Regions from separate parts of the Homo sapiens genome. Here region 1 is linked to region 2. The links are contacts of gene promoters, found by promoter capture Hi-C in human tissues and cell types (Jung and others, 2019). All regions are on one chromosome and are shown on one strand. The core of a region is centred on a gene start or on the middle of the fragment in contact, and the rest is flanking DNA. Distances in the headings are between cores, read along the strand shown. Region 1 holds the start of ALDH1L1 (aldehyde dehydrogenase 1 family member L1). Region 2 holds the start of ROPN1B (rhophilin associated tail protein 1B).

The links. The method cuts DNA at HindIII sites, captures the fragments that hold promoters and counts their contacts. A contact is called where the count stands out against the background at its distance.
Region 1: a fragment that was not itself captured here is called in contact with the fragment with the promoter of ROPN1B in region 2 in 1 of the 25 tissues and cell types used here (thymus).

The regions. Positions count from the first base shown.
Region 1 is chr3:126,179,443-126,186,235 of GRCh38, forward strand. ALDH1L1 (aldehyde dehydrogenase 1 family member L1) reads right to left here and starts at 1,144. Exons shown (of 23, transcript NM_012190.4): 1 at 1,034-1,144. It overlaps ALDH1L1-AS2 (ALDH1L1 antisense RNA 2), which reads left to right and starts at 623. Exons shown (of 2, transcript NR_046383.1): 1 at 623-1,102. RefSeq lists enhancers at 804-1,559, 1,560-2,313, 5,164-5,458. The HindIII fragment of the contact is 3,712 bases long and covers 1-3,176 here.
Region 2 is chr3:125,967,682-125,974,740 of GRCh38, forward strand. ROPN1B (rhophilin associated tail protein 1B) reads left to right here and starts at 1,497. Exons shown (of 7, transcript NM_001308313.2): 1 at 1,497-1,719; 2 at 3,436-3,481; 3 at 4,362-4,489. The coding sequence starts at 4,374. It also overlaps the pseudogene ALG1L1P. The HindIII fragment of the contact is 7,959 bases long and covers 1-5,556 here.

The sequences.
Region 1 (6,793 bases), core at 71-2,570, 210 kb after region 2:
TGAGCCGAGATCGTGCCACTGCACTCCAGCCTGGGCGACAGAGCGAGACTCTGTCTCAAACAAACAAACAAACAAACAGCAGCCAACATTCTCCGAGGGTTTCCTAGGGCCAGGCGCGGGGCAGTCTCATGTAATTCTCAAGCAATCTTGGGAGGCAGGCACTACTGTTCATTGCCCCTCCCGATTTTAGAGACAAGAAACTAAGATTCAGAACACAAGAAACTTGCCCAAGGTCAAGGAGAAGTGGAGGCGTGGGGAGGAAACAAAGTCACCTGACACCAGAGCCCATGCCTCCAAACTCCAAGTCTGGGACTCCTGATTAAATTCCGTCTCTGTCTGCACTTTGGGAAGATTCTTTCCTCTCCTAGGCAAGTGCCCGCGGGGCCTGAGCTCTCGATAGCGGGGCCCCAGGAGCCACGTTGTGGGGTCTGCTATCCGGCCTCCCTCTGCACGCGCGACCGTCCACTTGAGCGCAGTGGCTGGAGCTGGGACTCCAGCGCAGCCCCTGAGCGCTCACGTCGACCCCTCCAATCACAAGAGGCCCTCGTGCCAGGCCCCCAGATTTGGCCAATCAGGGAAGACCTTTCCCTGTCACAGAATGGGGTCGAGGGGCCCAGGAAACAGGTAGTCCCCAGTCACAAATCATCGCGTCGCCTTCGCTGGTCCCTTTCTCTTATCGAGCCTCAGTTTTCTCTTCCATAAGCCGGGCCAGCAGTGCCCACCCCACAGGTTGGCGCCAGCTCCGTAAGGGCCCTACCACCGCGGCCGGCCAGATCCTCGGCGGGCCAGTCCTGGCGCTGCGGTCATTTAGCCTGATGACCCCTGGCCAGGTTCAGCCTCAATTGCTCCAAAGAACTCCGGACCCGTACCCCGAGCCCGGCGTCCCAGCGGCGAAGTTGATGGGCCCCGCAGGAGCCCTTGCGGTGAGAACCGAGTCCTGGAGCCCCTGGAGCCCCCGGAGCCCCCGGAGCTGCAGCCGGGGCAGCCTCCTTTCCGCCGGGAGTCCAGCGCTCTCGAGAGCCCAGAAACTCACCGCGCGCAGGAGTTGGTGCGGGCGTCCCGGGCAGGTTAGACTTCTGTGAGCCGCAGCCCCGAAACTGAGGTTGGTGCAGACCCGTCCTGGGAGCCAGGAGGTGGGACCTGTCCCCGCCAGTCCGCGAGCTCTGGTTAAGGCCAGAGCCCGTGAGGGGAGGGGCGCGGGGCGGGCGGAGAGTCAGCCGAGTGGGGGCGGCGCTCACCGGTGGTGGGACTATGGCGGGAGCGCAGCGCACCCTCTCCGGGCGGGTCTATAAATGCCATGTAAAAGCCAACCCCGCAGGGGCCTGCGCTCTTTCCCGCTTAGGTCAAGAAGACTTACTGTGGACCCTTGGAGAATTCCCAGGGCTTTGAAAAGTCCCAAGCACCCAGCAGGGCTGGCAGTTCTGAGCGCTGGCAAGGCTAAGTGGGTCAGAGGAGACCCTCGCCAAGCCGGTGACTCACTCACTCGCTCACCCTCTCTCACTCTTGATGGGCCAAGTACCTGCCATGTGCTACGGACACAGCAGAGCGAAAGGAGACGCTGCCCTCCGGGAATTTGCAGCCGCTTGCAGAGGCGGCCCCTTAGCAGCTGCGCATCCGGGTGGATAGCGGCGCTTCTGCCCGCCCAGTGCCTACCCGCCTCTCCGAGAGAAAAACAGCCCCTGGTTTTCTCTCTGCAATTCCCCTTCTCCACTCTCTCCCTTCTACTCAGTCCTGGTGCCGCAGACCCCTCCTCCTGGTTCCCAGAGATCCTGGCCAGCCCGGTCTCAGGCAAGGCCATGTAGAATGCCGGGAGTGATAATTGCGTATTGTTTCATGACTGCAAGCCTGTGTCCAGGTGGCTCCTTCTCCTGGAACACCCTTCCCACCACACCTGCGGCCGCACTGCTCCGTGCCCTGCTAAGCCTCACTTCTTTTGAGGCGACCCTCTCGCTAAGTCCCGACCACCTGGCCCTCTCTCTGCTCAGTGCCTGAACACATCAGGCTTGCTGCAGCCCCTGCCTTTACCTCTCTACTTGTAGTGTTCTTTCAGAGCCTGCTCCCATATGGTATCACATATCAGATATCTGATGCAGAGCCTTAGAGAGGCTGTTCCAGGTCACACAAACTAAGGAAGTCCCTCAGCCACTCCCTGCCACATCACCCTGTTCTATTTCCTTCACAGCACTTAACTGTATATCTGATATTTCCTTGTTTCTTTGTTTGTTCATTGTCTGTCTCTCCCACTAGACTGTAAGCTCTTTGAGGACAGGAAATTTGTGAGATGTATTCACTGTTGTATCCCCAATACACAGTGATGGCTTGTAGCAGTTGCTAAATAAATGTTTGTTGAATGGCTTAATGCATGTATTTTGCTCACATAAGCCAGTATGGGCACCCAGGATTGAGGTGGCCTGTGCCTGCTGATCCACTTAGCCTACTTTCAGGCACTGTCCCCTTGTTCTTTAGGCTCCAGCCTGCAGGTCTCCCTGCTGTCCCTCATATCTGTGGAACTTCTCGACTCATAAAGTTTCCATGTGCCGTTCATCTTTGTCCAGAGAACCCCCATCATTCTTCAGGAAGTTCCTACTAAAATGCCATGACTTCAGGGAAGCTTTCCCTAGCCTCAGCCTTACTAGGACAGATTCCTCCATTATGTGATCACAGAGAGGCCTGTAATTTTTCTTCATGAACCTCTCTCAACTTTATTTATTTATTTTTTTTTGAGGTAGAGTCTCACTCTGTCACCCAGGCTAGAGTCCAATGGTGCAATCTCAGCTCAATGGACCCTCCACCTCCTAGGTTCAAGCGATTCTCCTGCCTTAGCCTCCTGAGTAGCTGGGATTACAGGCATGCGCCACCACACCCAGCTAATTTTTGTATTTTTAGTAGACGTTTCACCGGGGTTTCACCATGTTGGCCAGGCTGGTCTCAAACTCCTGACGTCAGATGATCCACCTACCTCAGCCTCCCAAAGTGCTGAGATTACAGGCATGAGCCACTGCACCCTGCCTTCAACTGCAATTTTATCACTGCTTCTGGGATTGCTTGATTAACATGTCTCTGGACAATGATGGCGAAGACTAGCTTATTCTCCTGGGAAGTCCCCAGGGCTGAATGCATGCCCTGTGTGTGGAAGGTGTGCCATATAATCTGTAGGAAAACTGGCTGAGTGTTAGGGGCCTGCAATGGGAAAGTGGTGTGTTCTGAACTTGGGAGTTAAAATTGAGAAGGCAGATGGGCGACAGGAACCACTGAACAATGGCTTGGAGGTTAGACACCCCAAAAAGATGTATTAGGAAATCAGAGAGGAATCCATACTCTTAGAGGTATGGAGCAGGAGAGGAGGGAATTTTAAGCAGAAAGTGTTCCGAAATCATGTGGAAAGTAGAAAATGTACCAGATGAACTGGGGGATCTCATTAAGGAGATTGTTGAAGGTGCCTCCTCCTGGCTTCTTCTTGCTGCTTATACTAAAATGTGAGAGAAGGGACATAAGCCAAAGGAAGGATTGTTAAATAAAAAGGAACCATAACTTGGGCTGTGAAAATGTCCAGCTTCTCCAGATGTCATATGATGCTAAAACTAACAAATGGCTTCCAGGCAAAGAGCAAATGCAGGCCAGTGCAAGGAAGATGGCCTAAAGATGAAGCCAAGAGTGTGGTCATGAGATCTTTTGTAAAATCTTCAAAGAGAACAAAGGGACACCTCAGAATATTTTGTTAAATAGTAGGATTTCTAAGAAGCTTACAGTTGTCCTTGACAGCAGTCTCAGCAGAAGCCCAAGAGAGAGAAGGGCTTTTCTCAAAGAGATGTGTGGGTTTGACAGTTGTCTAAAGGCATGAACCTCAGTGAGATCTACAGGAGACATGCAACATTTTTAAAAGAATTATATGAGCAAAACAGTGTAGACTTGGACTGAAAGGGTCAGAGACAATATAAAATGAAAAGAGACCTCTAGACTCCCCCAAATTCTGGGAGGAAGCAAGCTGAGAAACTATACGGATATGAACCTGGGCTGCATTTCATGGAAAAGAAGGGATGACTTGGGGAATAGAACAAAGAACCCAAAGGGTGGAGCCAAGAGCGTGGAGAATCACTCTGGGGCCAGAGTCAGACTGAGTCCTATTCAAGAGACTTTCAGGACCCGCCCAGGAAGATTTTAGAATTGCCGTACACTAGTTACTCCTGCATGCCTCCTGTCCTTGTTCCCTTTGGAGCAGGCACGTCTACAGTGGTTATCCAATGCCTATCCCACCAGTTTATGTCAGGTGGGTGCAGGGGGGAGGCGCAGTTAATTTGTCTCTGGAATTCCTAAGTCTGTAGATTGAGAGCAACTCTACTCAAGGAGCTACACTTGAGGGAATAATACCCCAGGTGCTTCACCCACATCAAAGCCTGATTTAGATGCAGAGATTCTGGATATTGAGCTGATTCTACAGTGGGATGAGGCTTTGAGGGGATGTTTGGAGGGCGAATGTATTTTGCATGTGGAAGGATGTAAGTAGTTTGTGGCCAGTAGGTGGACTGTGGTCATTTTAAAACTCTCTGATGCTCTTCCATTCAAGGAGTGGCACTTAATTCCCCTGCCTTTGAATGTAGGCTGAACGTAGTGACTTCCTTTTAACACATGAAAGATGGTGGAAGTAACTGTGTGATTTCCGAATCCATCCTTTCATAGACCAGAGAGAGAAGCTGAGGCTTGAGGTCAGACAGTGGCAGAAGCCAGCTTGTCCCTGTCCCAGGACTATATGATACTCTCTGAACGAGTCCCACTGAAACCCTCTTTTGCCAGTTCAGTTCACTGTGCCGGGAATGCCCTGCTTCTTGAAGCCACCAGCTGAGCCCTGCCTGTGCCCCAGGGATGGGCTTGTGCATCATCTCCTTTGGGAAGCCTGACCCCAACCTTCTCCTTGGGAATTCCCTCACTCACAGCACAGACCACACTCTAATGCAACTATTTATATGTGTGTCTGTCTCTTTATCAACTGCAACACCTCTGAGGGCAGGGACAGGGCCTGTTTCATCTGTGTATCCCACAGCCCTGCACAGGCCCTGATCCAGGAGAGGCACCTGCAGTGACAGTGGCTGGATAAGCCCTGCAGAGAGAGCCTCTGCCCGGGCTTTCCGCAGGGCCCTGGTGGCTAAGTCCTCCCAGGGAAAGCAGTGTGCACTTACACAGCCCAAGTCTGGGTAGAACAATGGGGGCTACTGCTCCAATCCAGAGGCAGATTAGGAGACAAGCCTGGCTCAGGGCTCTGTGAATGGGGGATGGGATAGACATGGGTTCTCTTTCTGTTGTATAATGATGATTCAGCTTGTTTTTGGGGAATCAGTAACTGGGACTGTGTGTACGCTGCAAAGGAAACATTAACTTGAAGGTCATAGCCTGTGGGAAATCAAAGCGGGGAGGCCAAGTGACCTGGGCTTGTTTTTGTTTTGTTTTGTTTTGTTTTAATTTTGGAGCCAGTGTTTCTCTTTATCTCCTAGGATGCCTCGTTCAGATGCTTCTACCCTGCCTCGTGAGTTACTCATGATGTCACCTGATCCCCACCCCTTAGAACCTCTCCCCAGTGGGAACCAAGAATTCAAAATGGTTTTCTCCATATTTCCCCCTTTAAAGGGCCTGCATGCAATTTTTCATGTAGAGGCGAAGGTAGGGATGAGACTTAACAGAGCTCTGTGCCACACACCAGAGCCCACCTGATGACCTGCAGACATAGATGGAATGCTTCTGGGCCACAGAGCTTACAGCCCTGCTCCTGCCAGGTCCTCTCCAGCCCCATGCCAAATCTAACCTGGGGGTGTTGCGTGTTTGCACCCCCATGCAAACTGGCTGGTGCCAGCACCTGGCTGGCACATGGCCCCCAGAAACTCACTGTAAAGGAATAAATGAGCAAAGAGGAGGCAGGGACGGTGTCTCTACTCCAGGTGCTCGCACCTCTATGGGGGAGATGAATGCACAGGTGGCAGATATGAAAGGTGGGAGGGGATGTGAACCATCACAGAGGTGAGACATGAAGAAAGCGGGTCTGGGTACTTCAGGCTTCACCTGGGAGATAAGGCCCAGTAAGACTGTGATGACTTTAACCAGCAAAAAATAAGAAACGTTCCAGTTGGAGAGAATGTAAGAATGATGCATTGGTGCATGGAGGTGGGGATGTGGGTTGTTTTTGAGGAATCAGGAGAAAGCATTGCAGCTGCAGGAGAGAAGCTGGCAAAGTCAGGGGTCACGAGGCCACAACATGGGGTGCAGACTGTGGGTTTCACTCTGTTGTCCAGTGGTAACAAGATGTTCTGATTTCATAGGCCAGGGCAATTTCAACAGCATTCCAGTAACTGATATTAGATTCTCATTTTCTTATTTTGCAAAGTAAAAACATCTTTAAAAAGTCAATATTCTGGAGTATTATTCAGACTTAAAAAGGAAGAAAATTCTGACACACATTACAACATGGAGGAATCTTGAGTAGTTTATTCTAACTGAGTTAACCCAGCCACAATAGGACAAATGGTTCTGTTTCTATGAGGTCCCTAAAGTACTCATGTTCATAGAGACAGAAAGTGGAATGGGGGGTGCCAGGGGCCATGGGGAGGGGAGAATGGGGAGTTCATGTTTAATGGGGACAGAGTTTCAGTTGAAAAAGTTCTGGAGATGGATGGCAGTGATGGTTGCACGACAGTGTGAATGCTCTTAAAAACATAGCACTGTGCACTAAAGAATAGTTAAAATGGTAAATTTTGGGTTATGTTTATTTTACCACAATTAAAAATAATAACTTTAAAAAATCAGTTTC
Region 2 (7,059 bases), core at 247-2,746:
GGCCTCTTTACAAATGGATGACAACAGGCTGTGAAAAGCTTTCTGCATGCATAAGCCAAAAATCTAGTTCCCCCACTTGTTCACTGATGCTTAAAATTGCTTTAGGGAGAGACAAAGGCTTTCATCTCACAACCAGAGAAAGCTCTGAAGACCCTGGGTGAATTAATTGATTTAGACTAATACACACTGTAGTATAAATGGACTGAAGGATTACATGATGCAATGAGCAGCTTTCATATGGGTGTGAAGTGACACGGGGTGTAGCAGAGAAAGATGGGGCTTTTCTTGCCTCTTTGGGTGCTTAAAAAGAACAGTCTTGAGGCCAGGTGCGGTGGCTCACACCTGTAATCCCAGTGCTTTGGGTGACCAAGGGGGGGTGGATCACTTGAGCCCAGGGGTTCAAGACCAGCCTGGGCAACACGGCAAAACCCTGTTTATAAAAATATAAAAATTAGCCTGGTGTGGTGGCACACACCTGTAGTCTCAGCTACTTGGGAGGCTGAGGTGGGAGGATTGCTTAGACCTAGGAGATTGAGGCTGCAGTGAGTCATGATTACCCCATTGCATTCCAACCTGGGCAACAGAGTGAGACTCTGTCTCAAAACAAAGCAAAGCAAAACAAAACAAAACAAAAACAACAGTCTTGAAATCAGAAGACCTGGAGACAAGTTGGGCCCTGGGCCCTACTGCCAGCTGTTTGATCACAGGCAAAATTACTCGAAGCCTTGAGCCTGTTTTCTAAAACGAAGGTAATATCTACCTTCAGAGTTTACTGTGAAACTTTGATGTCATCATGTTTGTAAAAGTGCCCTGGCACAGTGACCACATTCTACCCTATAAATATTTTCTATCTTTCCCTGTTGTCCCCAGGCATCTCAGGCTCTGTTCCTATCCACTCCATGCCCCTTTCTTAGCATTATAAGGTCAAGAGTGAGGAATCTGGGACCACGCAACCCAGATTCAGATCCTGACTCTGTCACTTGCTGACTGTCATCTTGGACAAGTTTAACCTCTCTGTGCTCAGTTCCCTCATCTGTAAAAATGGGGATAACAATAGTACTTGCCTCATGGGGTGACAGTAAGGATGAAATGAGTTCATGTGTGTAATGCACTTAGAACAATTCCTGGCACCAAAAACGCATTGTAAGAGGTGTTGTTGCTATGATTCCTGAGGAATTCTCACCTGTCCACTTTCCACAAGCCGAAAGATCAAGCTCCACTTCTGCCCTCTCACCTACAAAAGCGCACCGTCAATGGCTACACATTCCGCCCCACCCCCAACGCCCCCAGCCCGGGTTTCCTAACGTCCCCAGCCCAGTCCTTAACCCTCCAGGCCGTCTGGTCCTTCCACCACCAGCAAAGCCCAAAACAGCTTTCAGCGTCCCCTAGCAGCGCCCTAGCGGGACCCTGGGAACCCGCCGCTGCAGGAGAGGCGGGGCGGCTCTGTGACGTCGCGCCCGGCGCTACCCCTGGTGACCTGGCAGCGGAGCCCGCGCAGGGTTTGCCAGGCGAAGGCGGAGCGCTAACGTCTAACGCTAACGGCGGTCGTGCCCCGCCGCTGCTGTCACCCCCGGCCGCTGCTGCCCTCCCCGCCGAGGTTCTACTGCTCTCCTTCTTAAGAAGGGTGGGAGGCACTCGGTCTCTCCCCACACCTCTCGCCTGAGGCCAGGCGCCAGGTGTCGCCTGAAGCCAGACAGCCGGTTTGGGAGCGAGCCTGAGGTAGCCACCCCGAGGGGAAGTGGAGGGAGGGCAGGGCTCTGAGCGCCCCGAGGGCTGCGCTGGTCTGAGGGAGGAGCCCTGCCGGACGCCCCCTGGATTCTGAGCCTCTCCTTGTTCACAGGGCAAGGGGAGGGCAAGGGGAAGGCAAGGGGATCTTCAAGAGAATGTGACTGTGGGGGATTATGGCTTTCTGGCCAATTTGTGTGCGTATTTTGTACCCAGAATACTATTATACGGTTTCTTACCCGGAGGACAGTGGTTGGGAGGCTCAAGAGTTTGGAATCAGAGCCCTCCACCGAGGAGCCACACCTCTGCTTTTTCATCAGCGACAGGGATATAAAAATACCTCTGGGTGAATTGTCATGTGGACCAATGGGCATACCTAGCACTTCATAGACTCCTATCACACATTATTTTATACCTAGCACTTCATAGACTCCTGTCAGGCATTATTTTATACCTGGCACTTCATAGACTCCTATCACATATTATTTTATACCTAGCACTTCATAGACTCCTATCACGCATTATTTTATACCTAGCACTTCATAGACTCCTATCACGTGTTCATTTTATAGCTAGCACTTCATAGACTGCTATCACGCATTCATTTTTACTAGTACCTATTGAACACTAAGTTCCAGGCACTGGGCTAGGCACTGGGATGGTGTGGTGAGCAAAAACTGACCAGTCCTGCCGTGGAGTTTGCTGGGGGAGACACATGTTACTCAAAGAATCACACTAAGGATAGGTAAGTGATGCTCTGGAAGGGTATGTACAATGGAACTGACAGGGTAATCAGGGAAGGTTAAGCAGACCTCCAAAGGAAGAATCAACCTGTTAAGAGGAGGAGAATGCATTCCAAACAAGAGTAACCACATCCCAAACCCACCACCTCCAATTCCGAACCCAAACAGGGATGTGCAGTTGTCTGTGCTTGGTTCCAAGCCGCTCATAGAAACCCTCTGAGATTCTGCCCTGGAGCCTTTCATTCATGTAATGGAGACTTTCATTTATGAAATGGAAGCCCTGTTTAGCCCATACCAATAAAAACAAGTGAGAAATCCCTGAAACAAGACTATACAGTCTATTTTAAGACCTACATTCTTCAGCACTTGGCAGGTATACGTTGGGCTGCCATTTCACATTGGGAGGCATGTTTTGTTTGCTTTTTTGTGTTTTTTAAAAATTCCTTTCTTCCCCCCTCTCCGAGAAACACCCAAGAATGATCAATAAATACTAAAAAAATTTTAAAAAATCCTTTTTTCCTCTGTACAGATTTAGTGGTTATTACTGTTAAAACTTTTCTAATACTTTGCAAAGTCTAAAATTAATCATTATTTTATCATCCTTTTCCTCCAAATAAAAGAACATAAATAAAGTAAAAGGTCATGAAGTCCCACCAATCTAAGACCACTTTAGTTTCTTGTCTTGGGATTTCCGAGCCATGCTGGTGTTGGTATAAATGGAAAACTTAGAACTAGTCTGTGGCTACCAACTCCTGGGGGACTGTTTCTCTCCTGACTAGAAGCAGCAATGGAGACAGGTTTCTTTGTTGCTTACCCCAGCCTGTAGGCAGATATTTTCAGCCACACCTTTTCACGCTGAGGGTGTAGTCCCTGGGCGGGTCTCAAGTTTAGGTCAGAAGGGGAGTCCTTTAGTCCAGACATTTGCCTTTTGTGAGCCTAATCCTTGGTCTCTATCCACCCTGCCTAGCAATTTATCTCAAAGCTTCAAGTTCCTGCCATCTACATGTGCCCAGGTGAGCCCTAGTTTCTTCATTTGCCCAGCACTGCGGGTTCCCCTTTCCTCACCTCATTGGCCACTGGAAGATTTCTCTCACTTCACTGCAAGCCCAGCAAGGCAATGTGAAAGGCTTGTACTGAGATTTGTCTGGCCTCTAGGTGTTTTGAAGAGGGACAGCTTTTTAGCATATCTAGTCTGTCCCTTTCTCTACTAAAAGCAGAAAAAAATCTTTTGATCTGTTGTTTATTTGTGGATGGAATTGTATATATTTTATGGATGTTCATGTTTTGTTTCAATTTGTCCTGGAACTTTTTGAGAGAAAATGTACGAGTTTTCCGCCTGACAATTAGAGTTGAAAAAACATGCAGCTATAAACAGAGACGCTCATCAAATGGCTGTTTAATGACTATTTTTATATGGAAATAACCTAATGTTAATTCATAGAGGGTTCAGAGTAAATTTTGCTACAATTCTTACCTAGCTAATAAGAGCTGGATGACATGCAAAGATGTTCATGATATACTTTTGAGTAAATAAGCTGTTTTGCATAATCTTATTTTTTTGTTTTACAAACATATATATTTATACTGAAAAATTCTGGAAGGAGACATCCAATATTTTAGGGTGATACCATTAGGGATTTTTTTGTTGACTTCCACTTTTTAAATAAAAAAGGACTGTGTAATTTTTACGTAAAGGATATAACTATTTACAACAAAAAGTAGGGGTTAGCAGACGGCTTTCTAACCTTGCCGTTGTGTAACAATAGAATGCATTTGTCTTGCGGAGTCCCCAAAATTGAGTGTCAAACAGAGGCTGGGTGACCTCCTGTCCAGGATTGCTCTCATCTTATGAGTCCAAGTTTTCATCTTATGTATTTTTTCTCCTGAGAATAGGTCAACCAATCAATGGCTCAGACAGATAAGCCAACATGCATCCCGCCGGAGCTGCCGAAAATGCTGAAGGAGTTTGCCAAAGCCGCCATTCGGGCGCAGCCGCAGGACCTCATCCAGTGGGGGGCCGAGTACGTGCTCCTTTCTCGCCTTCATCTCTTGGAGGACGGGCGGGGAGAGAGGGTCCTGTAAAACCGCGGAGGTTGTCATGGCTGCAGCCAGGGGGTCGGGACTAACTGGCATCGTCTTTGTTTTAGCTCTTGCATTGCTTTGATGCTTTAAAATCCACACATAAATACTACATCTAGCCGGGCAAGGATGGGATGCCTCCCCTAAGCGAGCCAGATTGAGCAGTAGGACGCCAGGTCAATAGGCCGTGTCCTGGGGCAAGCAGCAAGTTAGATGACCGCGTCACACCAGCGTATGCACACCCACCTCCTCCCTGCACGCCTTTTCCCACTCTCGGTGGAAAGAAGGGCTGGGAATCTCCGCAGCTTAATCTGCCTTTCTTCATTCTCCTGTCTCACCACTAGATGGCAGCAGTGCAGCCGGGGGAGGGAAGCGACAGCCCTGGGTGGATGGGGTGGGACCAGTCCTGCTAGTTCACTCCTTTAAGGAGACACTTCCTCCCCTGCTGTTAAAACTCATACTTGGACCCAACCAAAGAGGCTTTGTATCTTTGAGGAAATTATTGTTATTTTCTTTGGTGTTTCTCTGAACTGATTTGTTCTGCCAACATAATGATGTCCTCACAGTACACACTGCATTCTGGGGAAAGGCCAGGCAGAGTGATGGGGTCCTCAGGCATGGCTGAAAACAGTGTGCCTCAAACACGGGTGCCTTCTTTCAGGAGAGACCTCCAGAGGCTGCTCAGTAGATGGAGCTTACACAACAATCGCTGCGGGCCTGGATTGAAGTAGCTTTGCACAGAAAGCCTCTCAGCTATGAAATTGCTCCTTGGACAAACTTGCCTGCTTGAAACTGGGGAACCAGGACTTGAGACAGGAGTTGGAAGATAACTAGACCTCACGGACCATTTTCAGGCTATTTTTACTGTTTGATGATTCCCTGCTTAGGAGGGTTTCAGTGGGAAAGTGAGAGTGAGAGAGGCCGTTGAGAGAAAGCCAGTGAGTTGGGGAAGGGAAGATGTCCTCAGGCTGAGGTTGTGAGTGGGTGTCCTGGGCAGATGGTGGGGAGAGTGTGGACACCTTTGAGAAGACACAAAATGGCACCTAAGAGGGGCCTTTCGGAGTCTCTGGGCCAGTGTTGTGCTCCTGGTCTGGATTAGGATGCAGCTTTTACAATTGGAAGGAAAATAGGCCAGTGGTGCTCATAAAAAGAAACATAAATGGGGGTTGCTTTGCCTAGTAATAAGCCCTGTTTAGTTTTCCATTCTAAATTTTATATATTGCCTCTAAGATTGAACTTTAGCTTCAGAAGACTAATTTATTTTGGCATAGTCAGATAGACAGACTTTATCTTATACGTTAGTTTCAAACCCATTTGATTGTTCTTGTGCTGCCGTTTTATAGTAAGCAAAATGACATTGCTTAGTATTGTCCCTGACATTTATGGAAGAGGCATTCCACTATTGTAGACTGCTTGCTCTCGTATTGTATCACGTGCTATAATTTTTTTAGACATCCATGAAAACTTAGTTTGTAGTTTAACCACAATGAAAAAGGAGGGCATGACCTAAGAGCCCCCTCCATTCTATCCAGACATGAAAAGCACTGCTCAGATGGTTGTATGTGACTTACTTAAAACCTGTAGCATTTTAGAGAATAAAACTCTGCAAAGTGTTTCCAAGACAAAATACGTTTTTAATCCATTGCAAGTAAGAATTTCCCTACATATGTGTTGTCAATGAAGAAACCTCTTACCAGGTATTGGCAGGACATATACTTATTTGTCCTCTGGTAGGCATGTGTTACAACTCAAATTTGCAATATATGTGTATAACCATGGACCTGATCACTTGCAAATGAAGCTCAATAACCCAAAGAATGAAATCCATGATTACAGCTTTGCTTCCATGTTGTCTAACCAATTCCACAAGAAGTCCAGAGATGTTGCTGCTGAGTGTTACTCTACCCGGGCAGCACTTCTGTGGAATGAGGTGCTGTGTGTCTCTGTCCCTCCCATTTATACCACCCAAGTCTGGAAGTCTGGTTTATAAAGCCTGAGTCCACACCCTGCTCCTGTTGTCACAGTGCACCCACACCCCGCCCACCCCAACACTGATCTGTGTGCAGAGATTTCTCAAGCACATTGTTAAAGGTGCCCTTCCTGCTGATGACCTCCAAGTGGTGACCGGCAGTTACTCCTTTAGTCCATGTAGCTTTCACTCTGCCTTGCTATGTGGCTTAGAGACAGGCAATCGTTAGCCCATCATTGTATGGCTTGACCCTAAAGTGGGCTTTTACAAAATTCCCTCTATATTATTTTCATACTACCTGGATCTGGAGGAAGTAATGGAGGGAAAAAAGCAGGGCGGAACAGAAATTTGTGGTTCATGGATCGTCAATAACCAGGCTTTTGATGGAGACAGACCCTGCCATGCTGCTTTGGTGACCCACATGTCAGCGGCTCATGTCCATTCCCTGCTGCAGGCAGCCTCTTTTCATCTTATGCCAGTCCTGAAACAGAACTCAGTACTTGTTCCACAATGCCCCCAAACAAAGTCCACTCCACAAAACAT